Regions from separate parts of the Homo sapiens genome. Here region 1 is linked to region 2. The links are contacts of gene promoters, found by promoter capture Hi-C in blood cells and fetal thymus (Javierre and others, 2016). All regions are on one chromosome and are shown on one strand. Each heading gives the region's core, a stretch centred on a gene start or on the middle of the fragment in contact. The rest is flanking DNA. Distances are from core to core; before and after follow the strand shown.

The links. Contacts are between HindIII fragments. The CHiCAGO score rates a contact against its expected background, and 5 or more counts as called.
Region 1: a fragment that was not itself captured here is called in contact with the fragment with the promoter of IDUA in region 2 in 1 of 17 cell types (total B cells); the score reaches 5.1 in total B cells.

What each region holds. Positions count from the first base shown.
Region 1 is chr4:762,320-768,297 of GRCh38, reverse strand. PCGF3 (polycomb group ring finger 3) reads right to left here. Exons shown (of 11, transcript NM_006315.7): 10 at 3,234-3,314; 11 at 1-2,266. The coding sequence ends at 2,219. It overlaps LOC124900163 (chloride intracellular channel protein 6-like), which reads left to right. Exons shown (of 2, transcript XM_047416474.1): 2 at 5,558-5,978. PCGF3-AS1 (PCGF3 antisense RNA 1) reads left to right here. Exons shown (of 3, transcript NR_171661.1): 2 at 3,251-3,386; 3 at 3,689-5,978. Among named protein-coding and RNA genes, the nearest start is that of PCGF3-AS1, 17 kb to the left of the region's middle. RefSeq lists enhancers at 2,255-2,314, 2,404-2,951. The HindIII fragment of the contact is 2,409 bases long and covers 523-2,931 here.
Region 2 is chr4:982,532-988,443 of GRCh38, reverse strand. It overlaps IDUA (alpha-L-iduronidase), which reads right to left and starts at 1,400. Exons shown (of 14, transcript NM_000203.5): 1 at 1,202-1,400; 2 at 495-635. The coding sequence starts at 1,359. It overlaps SLC26A1 (solute carrier family 26 member 1), which reads left to right. Exons shown (of 3, transcript NM_022042.4): 3 at 1-787. RefSeq lists silencers at 934-1,111, 894-1,543 and enhancers at 1,754-1,813, 2,989-3,038. The HindIII fragment of the contact is 17,691 bases long and covers 1-5,912 here.

The DNA.
Region 1 (5,978 bases), core at 478-2,977, 220 kb after region 2:
GGCAGAGGCCCCAGGGCCGAGTCCTGTAGTGAAGACTGTCTGCACGATGAACTCCTAGAAAAATAGGGACTTCTGCTGCTGAGGTTTTGTCAGGTTAACGCGGTTACAAAAGCAGGGTCACCACTGGCTGAAGACATCGACACGGGCGCCACTCGCCCGTCTGTGTATTTAAATCTATCAGCTTAGCACCATTGCAAAGTCAAGTGATTTCAAAGATAGCTACAAAGTTACAAATATATATTATGAGATTATTACAATGATATTCAGTTTCATCTGAACTGTGATTTAATTTTATTTGAATTTGGAGGCTTGTAACTGTTTAATCCTTTCTTATTCCGCCACACAGGAAAATGCCTAAGTTCTAACGTTACACTTAAAACTGCACTGTGATAACACACGGTTGTACAGAATGCTTCAGCAGTATGTGTATTTTGAGGTAGACAGGTAATATTTATTCATACACAGCTACTCATAGACCCTTATACAGTGACTCTAGAAAATGATTTGGATGAATAGCAAGCTTAGGTAACTGAGTAACTCAAACCGTCCTGGGAGTTGATGGGCTTAAAGAAAGAGATGAATTTTGACCAATTCCTAACAAAGAACTTGCTTTTGTTTTAAAAGGCCTTACACTGACAATCACTCAGATGGAATTAATATGCATGTTTTTCTCATCCCTAAGATAAGGTCTCTTGAGCTGCTTTTTATCTAAAGGAAGCAGAAGAAAACAGCGAAATTCAAGAAAAAAAATCTCCAAGGTGGTTGGCTTCTTGGAAAGCCTGAATGGTGGCCAAGGACCACCTGGGCTCCCAAGGAGTGGAGGGAGGAGGGATTCAGTTCCACAGGAAATAAATGGGAACAGCCCGGTGGAGAAGACAATGACAACTGCAGGACAACACCTCAACCACTCCAGAAAACAGCCCTTGCTCCTCCTTCTGGCCTTTTCATATTTCCAAGTTACTGTTTTAAAGGAAAAAAAAAAATGTGTGTGTGGCTGTTTATTCTCTAATGTGACAAAAACATGACCATCCGGGAGGAGAGGGGCTAACGGTGCAACCAACTGAGGCTGAAACACAGATTCAGCTGAAATGCAGCTTCTGCAGAGCGGGGGCCGGCTTCCCTCCTAGCCCTTCAGCTGCTCACCCTGTCCCTGCAGCTCTGAAAAACGCCCTTCCAGTAAGCGGCCAAGGAGCACACGAGCTCCTCCCACCAGCAAAGGGGAAGGGGAGGCCTTGGACAGACGGGGCAGTGAGTGTGTCTGGGCATGAGCCCGAAGCCACCACCAGCAAATCCTCCCCACGGATGCCAGGAGAGCTCTGATCCTAACCACCACCACCTCTCCCTTCAGCAAAATCAAAACAGGGAAAGAAAACATAGGAAACCAAACGGCGGCACTCAACAATTTGGGGGAACAAGTAATTTTTAAAAGTAAGAGTTGTTCCGTAAACCAGCACTGAGCTGGTCACACGGCCTCTGGTCTACCTGCTGAGCATGTCAGAAATCCCGACGTGGCGTCTGGGGCCCCGTTTCCAGGGCTGGGTGTGTCAGCCACAGGTGAGCGACAGTTCTGAGTGAGTCCAAGTGCCGACCTCACACAATGAAAGGCGAACCAGTCAGGGAGCTGCTGTTGTGTTTCATAAGGTGGGAAATTAAATACAATGGTTAAATCATAATGTTAATGGAAACCTCTTTTGGTTTGCTTTTAAATTAATTTTTTATATAACTTCTAAATCTTCAAGAAGCTAAAGGCAACATAAATATTGTCATTCACCATGAAAAGACATTTTTTCAATAACTTAGGAAGGATTCAATAAAAGTCCAACTACACTTGAGGCTTATCATGAAACCTAAAATTCATAAACTAAACTGAAGTGAATTCAGATTTTCAAGACCTGGAAAGCAAGCAGAGGGAGCTCGTGTCAGAAGGTGACTCAGAACCGTGTTGCCTGGAGCATCACTCTCCCTGCAAGGCTGAAGCACGGGGTGGGGCGGGGGAGAGGACGATCGGCTCTGGGAGACTGTGAAGTGTTTTCATCCTCTGTAAACGTGGTGCTGGTAGTGTCTTGTTGAGTGTGAATTCTCTCTCATACAAAAGTTATAAATATTCTCTATTCAGAAGTCTGGTCCACATGACACCCAGAGGCAATGTTCTTAAGCGCGGCGGCCGGGAGCACCCAAGGGTGCGAGGGCCCAGTCTGTGGGCGCTGTGTGGCACCATTCACAGCAAGTCCATCTTGGGTCTGTAGTGCAGCAGGAGCGGCGCCTTCTGGAAGACACAAGAACGCACAGTGCCTGCTTAGCAGGGGTGGAGGCGAGAAGGACCTACTTCATCGGGAAGGGTGCTGAGGAATCACGTCCCGTGAGGCACAGTCCACATGCAGGGCTGCACAGAGACCCTTCTGTTCTGAGCAACAGAAGGGTCCCCCAGAAGTTGCTGGGGGAAGACGGGCTAGGAAGACATGTGCCCTCTCCCCTGGCCCCAGGTGACCCAGTGACCACTGTGCACACCGTGGTGGCCACCTGTACCTGATGTGGCCCTGGCTGCCACTCCCCTGCCCCCTTCTCCCTCAAACCCTCTGGCCCAGCCCCAGGCCAGCCTTGGCTCCTCCCCCTCTCCCCAGGCAGCAACACCAGCTGAGGTGGGAGAGTTCCACCATTGGTTTCCTGCTTCAGAGGGGCCCAAAGGCCCCAGGGGACCCTCTGCTCATGGCACTCATGGCCTCAGCACTTTCCCACCAGGGCCTGTGCCCTTCGCAGCTCAGCTGGCACCTTCCAAGCTGGCTCTGGGGTTGATGATTTCAGAAAGACCAGAACTGTGTTTCACAACAATTTCTGTAGCTGAGTCATCACTTTTTTTTTTTTTTTGAGACAGAGTCTCCCTCTGTCGCCTAGGTTGGAGTGCAGTGGCACGATCTTGGCTCACTGCAAGCTTCGTCTCCCGGGTTCACACCATTCTCCTGCCTCAGCCTCCTGAGTAGCTGAGACTACAGGTGCCCACCACTACGCCTGGCTAATTTTTTGTATTTTTAGTAGAGATTGGGTTTCACCATGTTAGCCAGGATTGTCTGGATCTCCTGACCTCGTGATCCGCCCGCCTCGTCCTCCCAAAGTGCTGGGATTACAGGCATGAGCCACTGCACCCAGCTGGAGTCATTTAACATTTTAGATAAGAGATGCACAGCAAAGTCACTGCCATTCAGAGCAGACTCTGAAAATCAAATCACGTGTCTCACCTTGAATCTCCACCTAGTGACAACCACGAACTTGAGTGTGTGGTCCTTGCCCAGGATCTCCTCGTTGCATAAAATGTCCAGCTGGGGGATAAGGAGGTTTGATTAGCAGCGGAGAGGTGCTCAACCCACACTGACATGGCCACCTTGATGCTGGTATGAAATCTGCAGCCCCTCCCCAATCATGCAAGAACGTGCCTAGAGATGGGGTGGGGGGGGCTGGTTCATGTATTCCTCCATCCCTACCTCACAGCCTAGAGATGGAGTGTGGTCCCTACCTCACAGCTGAACGGAAATCCAGTGCAACATATAAGATATTACAGGGCAGGCCCGTGCCAGTTAGGGGGATGACGTTTCTGCAGGGGGTGCAGGCGCAGGCACAAGCTCCTTGCAGTGGTGGGCTCCCATCCCGCCCCTATCTGGCCTGCAGCTGCCCTGAACCCTTTTTCTCTTGACAGGCCCCATCACACCCTGTCTACCACACCTGCCGTACTGAGCAACGGGAAGAGGTGGTTTGCAGCCCCATGAGCAGCCCTGACAGCTCCGGAATCGGGCACCCTGGTTCCCCAGGTGGCACAGGTGCCTGAGAGGCCCATAGGGCCGAAGTGTTTCCCTCCCCATCCCACCCAGGCCCAGTCCACACCAGCCCCCTCCCACGGCTGCAGCCTCCAGGGGCACCCTCTCCCCACAGGCCCTACCTCCGGTCCAGGCTGTCCCTCCCTCTCACCATAGTGCAAAAATGCACTAGGCTCCCCAGTCTTTTAAAAAAATTAGACTTTTTAAAGAACAATTTAAGGTTTACAGCAAAATTGAGAGGAAGGTACAGGGAGTTCCCGTCCCCCTTGGAACCCCCCTGCCACCAACACCCTGCATGGGGGCACATTAGTCACCACCCAGGAACCTGCACTGACATCACCTCCACCGAGTCCAGAGCGGATGTCAGGTCGCCCTGGTGGCACAGCCACAGGTGGACAAACAGCAGCATCGCCGCCCAGGAGCCCTGTGCCCGCCCACTCCTACTACCCTCCTCAAGCCCCTGCAGCCTCCGGATGGTTCTGCCTTTTCCAGTGCGCCATGCTGCAGAGCTGGAGTCGCACGGCCTACAGCCTTTTCAGAGGGGCTTCTCTACTTAGTAACAGGGACTTGATGTTTCTCCCATGTGCCTGCTCTTGGCCCGACTGCTCATTTCTTTTCAGTACTGGATAATAGTCCAGTATGGATGCACCACGGTTTATTTTTCCACTTATCTACTGAAGGGCATCTTGGTCGCTTCCAGGTTTTGGTAATTATGAAGAAAGATGCTATCAACATCCGGGTGCAGGTTTTTGTGTGGGCAGGAGATTTCCAGTGGGTAAATGACGAGGTGTGGCTGCTGGGTGGTTTGCCGAGAGTGTGTTTCGTGTTGTCAGCAGCTGCCAAGCTGTTCTCCACAGGGCCTGCGGGTTCCACTTCCCACAGGAATGAACCTGCGCTCCCGGCGTTTCCCGAATGTGTTGTCAGTGCTTGGGATTCTGGCCCTTCTATGGGGTACGCGTGGTGCCACGCAGTTTTCCTTGCGTTTCCCTGATCATGTAGACAGTTCTTCAGATTCCTCCCTGGGGAAGGCATGAATTGAAGCAGCCCCACCTGCCTGAGTGGCTGGGTTGGGGGCTCAGAGGCACGGTTAACGCAGCAGCAGCGCAAACCTCACACTCTTCCCTGGAGGAACCAGCCCTGCGCTGGGAAATGGCCAACCTCTTCCCCACCCCCTGCAGCCCCACTGTCCGGCAGCTTCCCGCTACACCTCCACATGAAAATCCAAGGACTTCCTCGGCCTGCTCTGTCCCCAGCTACCATCCATCTTTTCTGTTTCGCTACACAGAAAAGCAAACAAAACGATAGAAACTTAGCAAAAAGCGTTGCCCCATTTCCTTCTCTCCCTTCCCCCCGTGTCCTGACTTGGTTTCTCCATGATCTCCAGGCAGCCCGTGCTCAGTGAGTCTCCCCAACCCCGGTGTGCTGTCCGTATCCCCGGCCAACCTGTGGGACACTCAAGGCTGGCATTGGCCCCCCATGACCTGACAGCCTCTGCTCTGTGCCACCACAGCAGCTACGCCAGCCTGTCCCGAGACACCACCCCCCACCCCAAACCGAGCAGCCCCAGGCCTGCAGTCATTCCTGACCCCTTCCTTTTCTCTGCATCACCACCCAAATACATCAGCAACTTATTGTGGCTTTCTCTGAATTAGTCTCCTGCGGCTGCCGTGGAAATTATCACGAGGTGGTGTCTTCAAACAATAGAAATGTACTCAGTTCCAGAGTCCATAACAGCCACACTCCCTCTGCAGGCTCCAGGGGAGAAGCACAGTCCATTCCGTGCTGCTGCCACAGAACACCACACACTGGGTGATTTATGAAGAACAAATTGATTTCGGCACAGTTCTGGGAGCTGGGACATTCAAGGTCACCACGTTGCCACCTGTGAAGGCCTTCTGCTGCATCCTCATGTTGGGGAAGATCAGAAGTGAGAACACATGCTGGCCAGTCCTTTCACAGCAGCATCAATCCGTGCATGGGGCAGGGCCCTCGGCCTGAGCGCCTCCCCCAGGCCCTAACTCCCAGCACTGCCCTGCTGGGGATGGAATTTCCAACATGAATCTGGGGGATGCTTTCGGACCACAGCCGGGGAGCCTGCCCTGGCTTCCAGCTGCTGGTGGCCCAGGGGCTCCCTGGCTTGCCTCGAGGCTGCCTCCCTCCAGCCTCCAGTCC
Region 2 (5,912 bases), core at 151-2,650:
CCCACCCTGCTGGTAGGAGCCAGCGGCTCTGGCCAAGTGCACGAGGGTCTCTGTGTTTCCAGAAGGCCCCACACACCCAAGTGCCCCTCACACCTCGTGCCTCCCCCTCACAGGGTGGCCACCTGCACCAGCGTCAGGGCCCAGGGTGCTGTGACCGATGAGACCTCAGCTCAGCCCTCAGGTGCAGTGGCCCTACCCAGCCTGGCCAGCAGACACACACAGGGATGCTCACGGGTGCACCAGGAGCCAGGTGCGGCGCAGCCAACCCTGAGCCTGCAGGGAGACCTGCAGGAAGCCCACCGTGCCCCATGCAGGGGCTCCCTCCAGCACACAGCCCTCACCCCAGCACAGCCAGCAAGGACACGCTCTCCCCAACAGGGTGCTTCGGCGGGAGGTGGGGGAACAAGGGGTCTTCCGAGCAGCCCCCAGCCCTCCCCTCCCATCTGTGCCTCTGTAAGGGGCTCTGGGACGCCCAGACCCTGCCCGCCGCCCACCTGGTGGTGACAAGCTCCAGCAGCCAGTGGGTCCGGACCTGCTTGATGCCGCGGTGAGGGACGGCGCCCACATAGGCGAGGTTGAGCTGCTGGTCCCAGCTGAGGACGTACTGGTCAGCCTGGCTGTGTGGCAGCGGGGGGCTGGGGACAACAAAGGGGCGGCTCAGTCCCGAGCCTCAGCATGGCTGGCAGCGCGGCTGACACACACGTTCAAGCCCAGGACTGCCCGGGCGCAGGATCCAGGCGCTGCCCGTGCGTTCAGTGACTAATAAAATGACCCTTAGGGCCAGGAATGTGGGGAGGTCCCATCTTCATGGGGAACGGCAGCAGCAGTAAGACGAGGGGCCAACGCCAGCCCTGGCCCTGGCCCTGCCAGGAAGGCGGGTACCTCAGCTCTAGGTGGAAGGAATGGGACAGGCAGGCCAGGTCCCGCTGCAGGGCCGTCCACTCCCAGGGGAGACTCCTGGTTTACCTCAAAGAGCAGGATCCCGGGCATCGGCCTGGGCTGCAGGGGGCGGCCCAGGCTCACGCCCCGGCGCCCACTCAGGTGGAGGACCCACCCACAAACACGGCGGGGGGCGGGCCCGGGAGAGCCAGGGCCCCAGAGGAGGGAGCTCCGGTCTCTGAAGCTCTCACAGTGCGCAGTCAGGGGGCGCCCGAGCTCTCCCCGTGCGGCCAGGGGGTCCCGGAGGCCGCGGAGCGCTCACCAGAAGCCTGTGCTCCTCCAGAAGCGCCGCAGGGGCCACAGCGCGCGGGCCGCGTCCACATGCACCAGGTGCGGGGCCTCGGCCGGGGCCACCGGGGGCGCGGCCAGGAGCGAGGCCAGGAGCGCCAGCAGCGCGGCGCGGGGGCGCAGGGGACGCATGGCCACGCGTGCTCGGGGACTGCGGGGCTTCGGGCTGCACTGCCGGTTCCGCCTCCGGGTCGGAGTCTGGGCGCGCACCCCATGTGACCGCCGCCGCGGGGCGGGGCCTTGGTGAGGGGGCGATGGCCGGGTGGGAGGGGTTGGGTGGCCTCGGGGAGCCTCGGGGAGCCGGGAGCACGGCAGGGCTTGGAGCCCCGCTTCCTTGCGGGCCTCAGGGGCTGCTCTGAGGACCGATGACTCGGAAAGCGCTCAGAAGAACGCTTCGCCCGTTGGTGCTATGTGAGTTGAGCCATTACTGTCTTGTTTTTCTCTGTTTTTGTGTGTTTTTGAGACAGAGTCTTGCTTTGTCGCCCAGGCTGAGGTGCAGTGGCGCGATCTCAGCTCACTGCAACCTCCATCTCCGGGGCTTCAGCGATTTTCTCACCCCAGCCTCCTGAGTAAAGCGTGCGCTTTAGCAGGAAGGAGAATTACCCCAGAAGAGCACACTGGGCCCTCCTTACACTTGGCTTCAGATCCATGGATTCAACCAAGCAGACTGAAAATATTGTTTTAAAGCCAAAGCAATACGAAATAATACATATTTTAAAACAATACAGTATAACAGCTATTTACAGAGCATTTACATTGTTTTAGGGACTATAAGTAATCTTGATTTAAACTACACAGTAGGATGTGCGTAGGTAATGTGCAAATACTGTGCCATTTTATATCAAGTACTTGAGCACCTGCAAATTTTGGTATCTGGGAGGGTCCTGGAACCAATACCCCGAGGATACCATGGGACAACTGTAGTACATGTGTAGTCCATGTATGCATGTGTGAATCCAAGCAAACATTGTATAAAAATAATAATGGAAAGAACAGGCTTGGTGCGGTGGCTCACACCTGCAATCCCAGCACTTTGGAATTGCAGGCCAACACGGGAGGATCACTTGAGGCCTGGAGTTTGAAATCGGCCTGGGAGATGTACCAAGACCCCATCTGTACAAAAAAAAAATTTAGCCAGATGCGATGGTATATGCCTGTGAGGCCCAGCTACCCACGAAATTGAGGTGGGAGATTGCTTGAGCTTAGGAGTTCAAGGCTGAGACGGGCCATGATCACACCACTACATTCCAGCCTGGTTGACAAAATGAGACCCCATCTCTAAAAAAAGAAAAGAAAAAAAGAACAGTCTACTAACAAAACGAAAATACTGGACAATAATCCTCTCTAAGTTGGGAGAAGGATAATTAGAGTTACAGTGTTCTGGGTCTTTTTATTTTGGGGAGAGGGGTTAAAATATTGCTTAACATTAGGTCTTCTTATGTTGAAATTGCATTAAAAGTGATTAGCCATTTAAAAGTGAAATAGTGTGTATATATTCCAAATTAGCAAGGAGGAAAAACATAATACAAAAAAATTCATTAAGAAACTAAAAAGTAAGAAAGGGAGGGAAAGGCGAGAGAAACCATGCAAGTACAGAACTGTCTCCAGGAACAGCGGGGTAAGACCCTCAGTCCAACGACCCCAGAGAAAACAACTAAAATGATGGATAACTCGCTTTAAAAACAATTCCTCAAAGCGTCAGAGAACTGAGAAAAACAGTAAGAAACCACCAGTCCCACACCGTGGTGCAGGACACAGCAATGGAAACTGAATTGTTTCAGACCAGCCGCCTCCTGAGAGCAACCATCAGAACTGGAGAGCGCTGAACGGAACCGTCCAGGGCACTGGGAGCTCTGAGGAGCCTCTGAGGCCTCGGGGCTCTGCAGGGACAAGCCGGGAGGGGGCGGGGCCCGCTTTGGGGCGGCGACTCCACACCCCTGCAGCGTATCCCAGCCACACAAGACATGGCGACACGCTGCTGCGTTCGTTCCTCACACTGTGGCCACAGGACAGAAGTCGAGGCTCAGGCGGGGGGCCTGGTAAAGACTTTGGGTTTTTCTTGGGACCCCAAAGTTCTATCCCCTAAAAGCAAAGGTAAACCAGCAACAGAATTGTCTTTGTGGGGACTGAAGCCAGCCTTAAATCACCTCAAGCCCTGAGAGAATTAAGGTGAGCCGCTCACCGGGACACCTGTGGACAGAAAAGTACACCTTCCCTGGAGGAAGGTAAAACAAAACAAAAACAGACAGAAGTCCTCACTGCACGGTGCTGGAATGGATCCGGGTCAGGAAAAATTATTACAAAGTGCATGATGGGGACATTCACAATTTGGAATATGCCTTGTACATTGTGCAACAAAATTCTACCAATGATAAACTCCAGAATTTTTTTTGTTTTTGTTTTTTGTTTTTTTAAACGAAGTCTCACTCTGTTGTCCAGGCTGGAGTGCAGTGGTGCGATCTCAGCTCATTGCAACCTCTGCCTCAGCCTCCTGAGTAGCTGGGATTACAGGCATGAGCCACCACGCCCAGCCAATTTTTGTATTTTCAGTAGAGACAGCGTTTTACCATCCTGGCCAGGCTGGTCTCGACCTCCTGACCTCGAATGATCCACCTGTCTCGGCCTCCCAAAGTGCTGGGATTATAGGCATGAGCCACCGCGCTGGGTCAAACTCCAGAATTATTAAACGACTCAATGATTGCATCACGGTTGTGAATGGAGATTTTTTGTTCATTTGTGATCCATGCTGAAGGGTTTAGAGGTGAAGAATCAATAGATTTGTAACCAAAGTTGCTCTGGAAATTAAAGCAAAACAATAAATTTAGATTACATACAGAGACTGAGATAAAAGCAAAGGTAGCAAAATATTAACAGTTGGTGAACCTGGGTGAAAACTATATACTGTTATTGCAACTTTTCTGTGAGTTTGAAATTTTTCAAAATGAAAACATTGAAAAAAATATTAAAACCTCATGAAACTTAGTAAAAATTTATTGAATGATACACTTGAACTTGCTTCATTTTATTGTATGTAAATCATATCTCAGTAAAGCTGATAACGAATTGGTTTAACAGCAAATTAAATCCAACTAGGCTGAGCAAGGTGGCTCATGCCTGTAATCCCAGCACTTTGGGAGGCTGAGGCGGGCAGATCACCTGAGGTCAGGAGTTCGAGACCAGCCTGGCCAACATGGTGAAACCCTGTCTCTACCAAAAATACAAAAATTAGCCGGGCGTGGTGGCATGCGTCTGTAATCCCAGCTACTCAGGAGGCTGAGGCAGGAGAATTGCTTTAACCTGGGAGGCAGAGGCTGCAGTGAACCAAGATCACGTCACTGCACTCCAGCCTGGGCAACAGAGTGAGACCCTGTTTCAAAAAGAAAAGACAAAATTAAATGGTGTTCTTCAAGTAGAAAGAATGATGTCCCAAATCCCAGCTCAGAGGTGCAGAGGAAGAAGTGAAGAGTGCGGGGGGAAGGGAAAACCTCCCCTGCCTTTCTGAAGTTTCACTAAAAGGGTACACAGATTTCTTGGATTGTAGTTTTATGTGACACAGCAGCTTTCAGAGCAAAGACCTAAAGGCGCAGGGGAAACCACATTTTTATACTCAGGTTCTGTGAATCTGGAAATAGGATTGGACGAAAGGTTAAGACCTGACAGGCTAACAGACTCCTGGGGGAGCCCAGCGAGGCCCATCTGCTTCGGTTCCTGGAGGCCTCTCTCTGCAGCTCTCCCTCCTGCTGGGTGGGGGCACAACGCCCCGGAATAGGGGTCTGACCACATACAGTCAAACAAGGCAGGCCAGAGAATTCCTTTATGGCCAGTTTTTACACAGAAAGACAGAGAAAAGTTATTAGAGTCATACTTTTAGGTTTATGGCTGGCTTTGGGGAAAAGGGGCTTAGGTTTCTACGACCTGCCTGGGACAATGAGGGGCCAGAGACAGGAGGCAGGAGAAGGCCTGGCTTCCAAGGCCTTCACTCTGGGTGACATTTTCTGAACCCCAACAAAAGCAACAGAAACGGTATATTGTGTATAAACCTAATGAATCGTAACCGCATAAAACAATCATGTTACAGGGTTTCACATATTTCTGGGGAATTAGGATTTACAGCAAGAGTGGCACAGGTGCTGTATGGGAAAAGTGAAGTGAGAGGGGAGGAGAGCCTCCTGAAGACGCCCTCCGTCCTGTCCAGGCCCGCGCCTGTCGCCTCACATGGCGAGCGCCTGCAGGCATGGTTCCGTGAAGCATCCAAGACGTAGAGATGATTCTAGTTATCCGAGTGGGCCCTGAGTGTAATCCCAGTGTTCCTATACAGGGGAGACGGAGGGGGGTTTGACACAGAGGAGGCTGTAACGGCCTCAGGAGAGATTGAAAGATTGTTCTAAAATGTGTCCCCAGGGTTTATTTCAGTGAGGTGTGGGGAGACACACGGACCCGGCCACGACAGGCCAGGAGGAAGGCCTTGCTGTGTGTAGAGACGTGTGCGATTCCGATTTAGATTTTGGGGCTCTGTGAGGCAAGAGATTCACACAGGTCTCTACCCTGCAGGGGACACCTTTTGGGCAATGGCCCAGTGGCTTATAATAAACGTGGGGAAGAAGCCACTGGTCGGCGGAGGCCCTCAGGGCTGAGACCACGCCTGGCACATTGCTTCCAGGTCCGCCTTTCACTGGGGGCGTCCG